Regions from separate parts of the Homo sapiens genome. Here region 1 is linked to region 2. The links are contacts of gene promoters, found by promoter capture Hi-C in human tissues and cell types (Jung and others, 2019). All regions are on one chromosome and are shown on one strand. The core of a region is centred on a gene start or on the middle of the fragment in contact, and the rest is flanking DNA. Distances in the headings are between cores, read along the strand shown. Region 1 has its middle 20 kb from the start of PABPC4. Region 2 holds the start of GJA9 (gap junction protein alpha 9).

Region 1 (4,998 bases), core at 939-3,438, 720 kb before region 2:
GTTGCACACCCACATTCATTACAACATTATTCACAATAGCCAAGAGGTAGAAGCAACCCAAAAATGGCCATTGATGATGCAACAATAAAGAAAATGTGGTTTATTCACATAGGGGAATATTATACGACCTTGAAAAAGAAAGGAAATCCAGTCACATGCTGCAACATGGATGAACCTCAAGAACATTATGCTAAGTGAAATAAGCCAGTCACAAAAGGACAAACACTGTATGATTACACTCATGTGAAGAATCTAAAGCAGTCAAAATTACAGAAGCAGAAAGTGGAAAGGTGGTTGCTGAGGGTGGAGGTGGGGGAGGGAGAATTCATGTTTAGTAGATACACAGTTTCAGTTTTGCAGCGAGAAAAAGTCCTAGATGTCTGTTTCACAAGCCTTTAAATACACTTAAGGCTACTGAACCTGCCCTTAAAATGGGTCAGAGGGTAAACAATGTTACGTGTTTTTTTTAAGTACATAGAAGTCATCATTTAAACCATTTTAAAGTACACAACTCAGTGGTTTTTAGTATATGCAGATGTTTTGCAACCACCACCACTGCCTAATTCTGGAACATTTTTATCACCCAAAAAGGAGCCCAGCACCCATTAATCAGCCACTTGTGTTCTCCTCTTCCCCCTTGGCAACCACTAATCTGCTTTCTGTCTCTGGATTTGCCTATTCTGTGTAAATGTAGTCATGTAATAGGTAGCCTTTTGCATCTGGCTTCTGTCACTTAAGATGTCTTCAAGGTTGATCTGGCGGGGCACGGTGGCTCACGCCTGTAATCCCAGCACTTTGGGAGGCCGAGGTGGGTGGATCACCTGAGGTCAGGAGTTCGAGACCAGCCTGGCCAACATAGTGGAACCCTGTCTCTACTAAAAATACAAAAAATTAGCTGGACGTAGTGGCAGGTGCCTGTAATCCTAGCTACTCGGGAGACTGAGACAGGAGAATCGCTTGAACCCAGGAATTGCTTGAACCCAGGAGACGGAGTTTGCAGTGAGCCGAGATCATGCCATTGCACTCCAGCCTGGGCAACAAGAGCAAAACTCTGTCTCAAAAAAAAAAAAAAGAAAGAAAGAAATAAGCCAGTCACAAAAGGACAAATACTGTATGATTACACTCATGTGAAGAATCTAAAGCAGTCAAAATTATAGAAGCAGAAAGTGGAAAGGTGATTGCTGAGTGTGGAGGTGGGGGAGGGAGAATTCATGTTTAGTAGATACACAGTTTCAGTTTTGCAGCCAGAAAAAGTCCTAGATGTCTGTTTCACAAGCCTTTAAATACACTTAAGGCTACTGAACCTGCACTTAAAATGGGTCAGAGGGTAAACAATGTTATGTGTTTTTTCAAGTACATAGAAGTCATCATTTTAACCATTTTAAAGTATATAATTCAGTGTTTTTTCTGTTGTTTAGAAGCAACCCAAAAATGGTCATTGATGATGCAACAATAAAGAAAATGTGGTTTATTCACATAGGAGAATATTATACGACCTTGAAAAAGAAAGGAAAACCATCTTAGTGGTGGTTGCAGATGTTTTGCAACCACCACCACTGCCTAATTCTAGAACATTTTTATCACCCCAAAAAGGAGTCCCACACCCGTTAATCAGCCACTTGTATTCTGCTCTTCCCCGTTGGCAACCACTAATCTGCTTCTGTCTCTGTGGATTTGCCTATTCTGTATAAATGTAGTCATATAATACGTAGCCTTTTGCATCTAGCTTCTGTCACTTAAAATGTGTTCAAGGTTGATCACACAGGGTGTGGTGGCTCACGCCTGTAATCCCAGCACTTTGGGAGGCCTAAGCAGGCAGATTGCTTGAGCCCAGGAGTTCGAGACCTGCCTGGGTGACATGGCAAAACCTCATCTCTACAAAAAATACAAAAATTAGCCAGGTGTGGTGGTGCGTGCCTGTAGTCCCAGCTACTTGCGAGGCTAAGGTGGGAGGATGGCTTGAGCCCAGGAGGTAGAGGTGGTAGTGAGCAGAGATCGCACCACTGCACTGCAGCCTGGGTGACAGACCCAGAGCCTGTCTCAAAAAAAAAAAAAAAAAAAAAAAAGGGCCGATCCATGTTAGCATGGATTGGCACTTGATTTATTTTTATTGCTTAATAATATTTCATTATATGGATAGGCCACATTTTGTTTATCCATTTATCAGTTGATGGACGTTTGGATTGTTTCCATTTTTTTTTTTTTTTGGCTGTGAGGAATAATGCTTCCATTAACACACATTCTGTTTTGCTCATCGAAATAGATTGGAAGGAAACACATCAGATTAGTAGTAACAACTGCTCCTGGGATTGAAAGGAGGGGAGGAATTGGACTGGGCAGAGGAACAAAGGGAACTTCAGCTCTGTCTATGATGCTCTATTTGTTTTATATAAAAAAAAATCTGAAGCAAAAATGTTAACAGTTGCTTATTCTGAGTGGTAAGCACATGGGCGTTAGTTAAGTTCACCTCTGAGCTTTCTATATTTTAAATGTTTAAACTAAAACAATGCATACTCTGGACCTATGCCTTCCTATAGCATAAGGGGGTTGTGGGGTCCAGGATAAGCAAACATTGAAGTGTGGGGAGAGGCCAGGAGGAAGAGGCCAAGCCATGGCTAGGGGGCGCAGGCTTGAGGCCCTTTGAGACCCAAGGCAGAAACTCTGACCCCACCCGCATGGCTCTTCTGGGACCCTTCCCCTGCCCAGGAAGAGGTCCTAGATCTAATCTCCATGACTCCTCAAAGAAAAGCCAGCACAAGGTCCAAGCTGGGAGAGACTGTCCTGACCCCATGTCTCCTGCCTTCTCTGCGTGCTCTGAAAGGGGTCATCCACCCCAGTGTCCTTACTTTCCACCTTCCTCAATCTTCTGCTCAGGATCAGCTACATCATTTGTGAGGCCAGGTGCAAAATGACAGCGTGGAGCCCCTTGTTCGAAGGCTGATGCCGAGGCAATTCCTAACTCCACAGGGGCAGCCACAATCTGAGTGGTGTCAACATGCCAGGGACTGAGGCAGGAGCCACCAGGGTGAGTAACTGGGTGCATGCATCTGTTCGCACATGCTGCATTCAGATGAGTGCTTAGCACGTGCCTGGCCCGGCTGGGCCCTGAGCATAGAGGGTGAGCAAGACACAGTCCAGCTTTGAGAAGCTTACATTCTAGAGGGGGCATAGATGTAATCACAGACACACAAGAGATCATCACAAATGGCAGTAAGTGCTATGAAGAAAAAGTAGAAGGACCATGAGATAACGACGGCAGGGTCCCCTGATCACGAGACTCCCAGGGAGGGACACTGGAGCCACGATCTGAGGGCCATTATTTTAGCAAAAGATGGGAATATAGTGCAAGGGTGAGATTGGGAAGAGCATTCCAGAACGTTCCTGGCAGATGAGCATGTGACATCTTCAAGGACCTGCAAGACCAGTGTAGCTAGAGCCAGGGAGGGAGGGACAGACAGCCCCCGATGAAACTGAAGAGAGGTCTAATTTCCTGAGCCTTGTTCTAGTACCATCGATGGTGGCTCCTCTTGTACTATCATTTCTTTAATATTTTTCTTTAAATTGGCTCCCTTTATATCCTCCTAAGCAAGAATATTCATGAAATTAAAGAATGACATAACACTTCTATTTTTCTAATTCACAGGTGAAATTTTAAAATGTCCTTCCACATCCACCTAAAATTGTCCACCTTATCACCTCAGTTTGGAAAAGACTTTTGCCAGCTCCTTTCTTAAGAGCCTTGGGAAGCCTCTAGCAGGATTTCAGCTGGGTGAGAGGCTGGCGACATGGTCTCACTTACATTTCTGAAAAAGGACTCTGTCTACCATGTGTAGAGTGGATTACAGGGGAGACGGAGAAGGAGGCTGTTGCAGGCATCCGGGAGGAACCACTGGGGGATCAGATTTGGGTGTTCAGGAGGAGAAGGGAGCTGGGCTTTCCCACCAGTGCCCACACAAGCCCTGCCCTCCAAAACCAAAATCTTCTTTCTTTTGTGTCCTTGTGCTGACTCAAGGCCAGTTCAGTGGGTTCTCCTGTGATCCTCCTGTGATCCTCCTGTCTCAGTGTCAGCTCCAGGATTCAGGACGGTGTGTCCAGTGCCCCTGTGAGAGCCCAGATCCCTGGGCCAGTCAGGCTGACCACAGTCGGGACTTTGGGTCACACCCAGTCAGGCCCTGTGGTCTCCAGTGCAGCAACAACAGCATCCACAGACAGGCCACTCTGTGCATGTTTCAGGAACTGAGTTATATGATTTCTTTCTTTCTCTCTCTCTCTTTCTCTTTCTTTCTTTCTTTTGATATAGCCTGGCTCTGTCACCCAGACTGGGGTGCAGTGGTGTGAACACAGTTCACTGCAGCCTCAAACTCCTGGGCTCAAATGATCCTCCCACCTCAGCCTCCCGAGTAGGTAGGACTGCAGGTGTGTGCCACCACACCTGGCGAATTTTTTTTTTTTTTTTTTTTTTTAGAGATAGGGTCTTACTATGTTGTCCAGGCTAGTGAATTCCTGGGTTCATGTGATCCTCCCAGCTCAGAAGTTATATGATGTCTATCACTCTATCACCTACGTATTGATGACCCCTAAGTCTACATGGCCCAAAGTCCACACCCTTAACCACTGGGCCATACTGCTTTTTTTCCCTCATGACCTATCCCTCATAGCCTTCCTCACTCCCAAGCTTTCTACCTTCAGGAAGACTTGACTCCCTCTGACATTGCTTCCCTAAGGGCTTCTGTCAGCTCTCCCAGCCTCCTCTGGGAAGGGCCCTTCCCCATTGCTGCTTCTAAACCATTGCTCCTCCATCTCCTGCAAAACAACAAAATCTCTCCGCTTTTAAGACTGCTGCAAAACTGCCCTGTACTCCTCCAGTTCACAAGGTATATGATGAAGGAGTTGGGGAAGGGGGATGCGCCAATGTGCCCACCATGAGCTAGATACCAGGGTGCAATGGTGACCAAGAGTGACACAACCTGGCACCCCCCATGCAGTGGGGAAAGGAAG
Region 2 (4,703 bases), core at 87-2,586:
TACAACATGACCTAGGGACCTTTCTCTATTAGTTCATAGAAATCTTTATTCTCTGAATTGCTGAATGATATAGATGTACCATAGATAACCATTCCTCTGTCAGACATTTAAATTATTGCTGCTTTTGTATAATTACCAACAGTGCTATGTGAACATCCTAGCATGTGCAGTGTGTCTCTGAATGTCTATGCTGAATGAATATTTCAAGTATCCAAAAGCAGAAATGCTATACTAATATTGATAGGTTTAAACTGCCTTTTAAATAGCTGTATCCATTTATATTCTTACCTACAGGATATGAGAGTAACAGTGTCTCCCTACTTTGCCAAAAGAAGGTATTATAAATCTTTAAAATTTTGCATTTTGATAGTTAAAAAATAATATTTCACTTAAATATGTATTCTCTGACTACCGAGGTTGAGGAAGTTTCGAGTTTATTAATAATTTATGAGTTACACATATGTAATTCAGATAACACATAATATAGAAACATGAATATATTGTGCATGTATGTGTGCCTATACAAATATATATATATATAAATAATATATATATAAAAATATATATGTAAATATATATATATATATATATATATATATATATATATATATATATATATATATTTGTCCCTGGTGAAATGTTTGTATTTAATCTGAGAAGTAGCTATTGTTGGCAAAAAAGCCCAGGGAAGAAGTATTTATCTGTTATGCTCAACCTGCCAGATCACTAGCTCTGAAGGGACCTTTAATGACCTAAAATACAATGTAATTGTTAATAACAGAACATGGGAGACAGAATCAGGATCTATCTATGAAATCGGACATGACCCATTTATTAAGGCAGATGACCAAGAAGTTATTATCTAGTAAGAAAGACTTTTTTGGTTCTAGAAACATGGTTTATTGCACAAAAAACAATGACATTTTATTAGGTTCCCCCAGTGGCAAAAGTTGCATACAAACAGCACACAAATACCTCCTGTCATTTTAAATTTGACATCTCTGAATTATGGAGGAATCATTCACTCAGCTTAATTTGGGGCTCATGACTTTAGTCTTCTAGATTGCAGTGTGTTATCAGGACTATTATAAGCATTCTTTATCTGTGCTGTCCAAAAAAGCAGCCATTAGGTAGATGCAGCTCTTTACATTTTTATTAAAATTATTTAAAATTAAAAATTCAATTGCTCTGACACACAAACCATAATGCAAGTGTTCAATAGCTACATTTGGCTACTGGCTGCCTTATTGGCTAGCACAGATAGAATATTTCCATTGTTGCAGAAAGTTCTATTGGATGGTGCTGTTTTAAAAGCAAGGATAAGCAGAAAGGGACATGGATTTTAGTTGATGGATGACTCACTCACTACATTCAACTGAACTGAATCTGCTCTATACCAGCAAAGGGACAAATTCAGAAAATAAATTGAAGATGGCCATGCTGTAACTTCTAAACATGGTTTGCTTCTCAGATTTACCTAAACTAAGAAAGGTTTGTGTTAATCTCTCTGTTTTAGCTTATTAAGAAAGAGTTGTTTGAAATGTTTTTATCTTTTTCTTTTGAATTCTATGGTACTGTATATATGTATACCAGTTTTTATGTCATTTGCTATGAAAGCTTTAATTTGTAGCTAAATACTACTGCTCCTTCTTTCAGGAAATACTATGTGTTGTCCTTTATGAAAAAAATATTTTCTTTCTTTTTATGATTATAAAAGTAAAATGCTTATAGTAAAAAATTAAAATACATGTAATTACAATATATTAAGTATATAATTTGTAATCCCAACATCCAGAGCTAATCACCGTTAATATTTTCATGAATATCCTTCTAGACTTTTTTGTATACATCTGTAAATGTAACTAAACTTATAATAATGGGGCCATATTATTCTATTTTATAACATCAATTTCACTGAAATGAAATATCAAATGCCATTTTATGTATGTTTATCATTTCTACTGGTTGCATAGTATCACACCGTGGATGTAGTCGATTATTTAACCAGTTTTTCTTGTATTATTATTTTATGTTTTTAGCTTATGACTATTATAAACAACATGAATTACATCTTTGCTTACATTATTATTATTTATGAACCATAAATGAGACTTAACTTGCTTACTTTTTTTTTATTTTTTGAGACAGAGTCTCACTCTATTGCCCAGGCTGGAATGCAGTGGCCAGATCTCGGCTCACTGCAACCTTCACCTCCCAGGTTCAAGCGATTCTCCTGCCTCAGTCTCCTGAGTAGCTGGGATTACAGGCATGTGCCACCATGCCCGGCTAATTTTTGTATTTTTAGTAGAGATGGGGTTCAACCATGTTGCTCAGGCTGGTCTCGAACTCCTGACCTCGTAATCCGCCCGCCTGTGCCTCCCAAAGTGCTGGGATTACAGGCGTGAGCCACCGCGCCTGGCCAACTTGCTTACATTTTAAAGTGCTTTGGGTTGTTGGGTCAGAGTATGCTATTATTATTATTATTATTATTATTATTATTATTATTATTTATTTTTTTTTGAGACAGAGTCTTGCTCTGTCGCCCAGGCTGGAGTGCAATGGTGTGATCTCGGCTCACTGCAACCTCTGCCTCTGGGTTCAAGTGATTCTTCTGCCTCAGCCTCCCGAGTAGCTGGGACTACAGGCGCCCGCCACCACGCCCGACTAATTTTTGTATTTTTAGTAGAGCAAGGGTTTCAACCATGTTGGCCAGGCTGGTCTCAAACTCCTGACCTCAAGTGATCCGCTGGCCTCGGCCTCCTAAAGTATTGGGATTACAGGCGTGAGCCACCGTGCCCGGCCAGAGTATGCTATTATTAACATAATAAAGTCAATGGAAAGTTTCTCTATTTCAGGAATACAACTATATTTTAGAAGGTTGATGCTTTTGCAAATCGTATTAACAGAGCCGGGCGCGGTGGCTCACGCTTGTAATCCCAGCACTTTGGGAGGCCGAGGCGGGAGGATCACGAGGTCAGGAGATCGAGATCACGGTGAAACCCCGTCTCTACTAAAAATAACAAAAAAATTAGCCGGGCGTGGTGGCAGGCGCCTGTAGTCCCAGCTACCCGGAGAGGCTGAGGCAGGAGAATGGCGTGAACCCGGGAGGCGGAGCTTGCAGTGAGCCGAGATCGCGCCACTGCACCCCAGCCTGGGCGACAGGGCGAGACTCCGTCTCAGAAAACAAACGAACAAAAAAAACAGAACAAAGGCTGAAGAAAGGAACTAAAGACTCTAGAACTAGTTATTTAAAAAGCCAAAGCTATCACTATTTTACATTCCTAAATTTAAATGATTAAACTTAAGAGAAAACAGATAATCTCTTAATGTTTCTTTCCGGCAAATTTGAAGTTTGCTTACAGAGGAAAAATAATAGTTTAGTAAAAAATTTAAGGAGCTGACTCTAAAGCCACAATGATTGGGTTTGAATGCCAGCTCCAGCTGTGTGACCTCAGGTAAATTAAGGTGTGCTTCCGTTTCCTCATCTGTAAGATGGGGGAAACAACATACTTACCGCATAGGATTTTAGTGATGAACACATCTTGTATCTTAGTAGTTTGTTTGATTGTGTAACAGTTCCCTTTATATAAAGGGGACAGGACATACATTTATATTTTAAATGAAAAATAATGAAAATATTCACTTTTAAAATCTTTCCTTTGGGGTATATTTCCTCTGAGATAACCTGGGATACCAACCTTAATATGCAATCTGCCGGCAAATAATCCAAGCAGCTAAATTATAACTTGCCCCACTGCTTCCTTCAAGAGAGCAGCTATATGTCTTAAATAGGTCAAATACTGCTACAGTGAAAGTTTCCATAATACTGCCACCATACCAGTGAACAATCTATTGCAAGTAATATCTATAATGAGATTCTGGTACCATAAGGCCGGGCGCAGTGGCTCACGCCTGTAATCCCAGCACTTTGGGAGGCCGAGGCAGGTGGATCACCTGAGGTTGGGAGTTCGAAACTAGCCTGACCAATATGGAGGAACCCCATCTCTACTAAAAATACAAAATTAGCTGGGCATGGTGGCGCATGTCTGTAATACCAGCTACTCTGGAGCCTGGGGCAGGAGAATCACTTGAACCTGGGAGGTGGAGGTTGCGGTGAGCCGAGATTGTGCCATTGCACTCCAGCCTGGGCAACAAGAGGGAAACTTCGTCTCAAAAAAAAAAAAAAAAAAAAGATTCTGGTACCATAAAATAGTTGAGAATTTTTGGAGTTCTTTTTGTTTTCTGAGACAGAGTTTCTGCTCTTGTCGCCAAGGCTGGAGTGCAATGGCGCGATCTTGGCTCACCGCAACCTCTGCCTCCCAGGTTCAAGTGATTCTCCTGCCTCAGCCTCCTGAGTAGCTGGGGTTACAGATGCCTGCCACCACACCCAGCTAATTTTTTGTATTTTTGTAGAGACAGTGTTTCACCATGTTGGCCAGGCTGGTCTCGAACTCCTGACCTCAGGTGATCCGCATCGGCCTCCCAAAGTGCTGGGATTACAGGTGTGAGCCACTGTGCTGGGCTTGAAGTTCATTTTAACGTAAGAATTTACAAAATTTGGGCTGGGCGCGGTGGCTTACTATGGGAGGCCGAGGCGGGTGGATCACTCAAGGTTCAGGAGTTCAAGACCAGCCTGGCCAACATGGTGAAACCCCGTCTCTACTAACAATACAAAAATTAGCCAAGCGTGGTGGCACTTGCCT

The links. Contacts are between HindIII fragments. The study calls those that stand out against the background at their distance.
Region 1: a fragment that was not itself captured here is called in contact with the fragment with the promoter of GJA9 in region 2 in 1 of the 25 tissues and cell types used here (lymphoblastoid cells).

Annotation. Positions count from the first base shown.
Region 1 is chr1:39,594,416-39,599,413 of GRCh38, reverse strand. No RefSeq gene overlaps it. Among named protein-coding and RNA genes, the nearest start is that of PABPC4, 20 kb to the right of the region's middle. RefSeq lists silencers at 696-825, 1,576-1,665. The HindIII fragment of the contact is 3,448 bases long and covers 465-3,912 here.
Region 2 is chr1:38,878,220-38,882,922 of GRCh38, reverse strand. It overlaps GJA9 (gap junction protein alpha 9), which reads left to right and starts at 1,336. Exons shown (of 2, transcript NM_030772.5): 1 at 1,336-1,491. GJA9-MYCBP (GJA9-MYCBP readthrough) reads left to right here and starts at 1,297. Exons shown (of 3, transcript NR_037637.1): 1 at 1,297-1,491. RefSeq lists a silencer at 3,112-3,296. The HindIII fragment of the contact is 16,120 bases long and covers 1-4,703 here.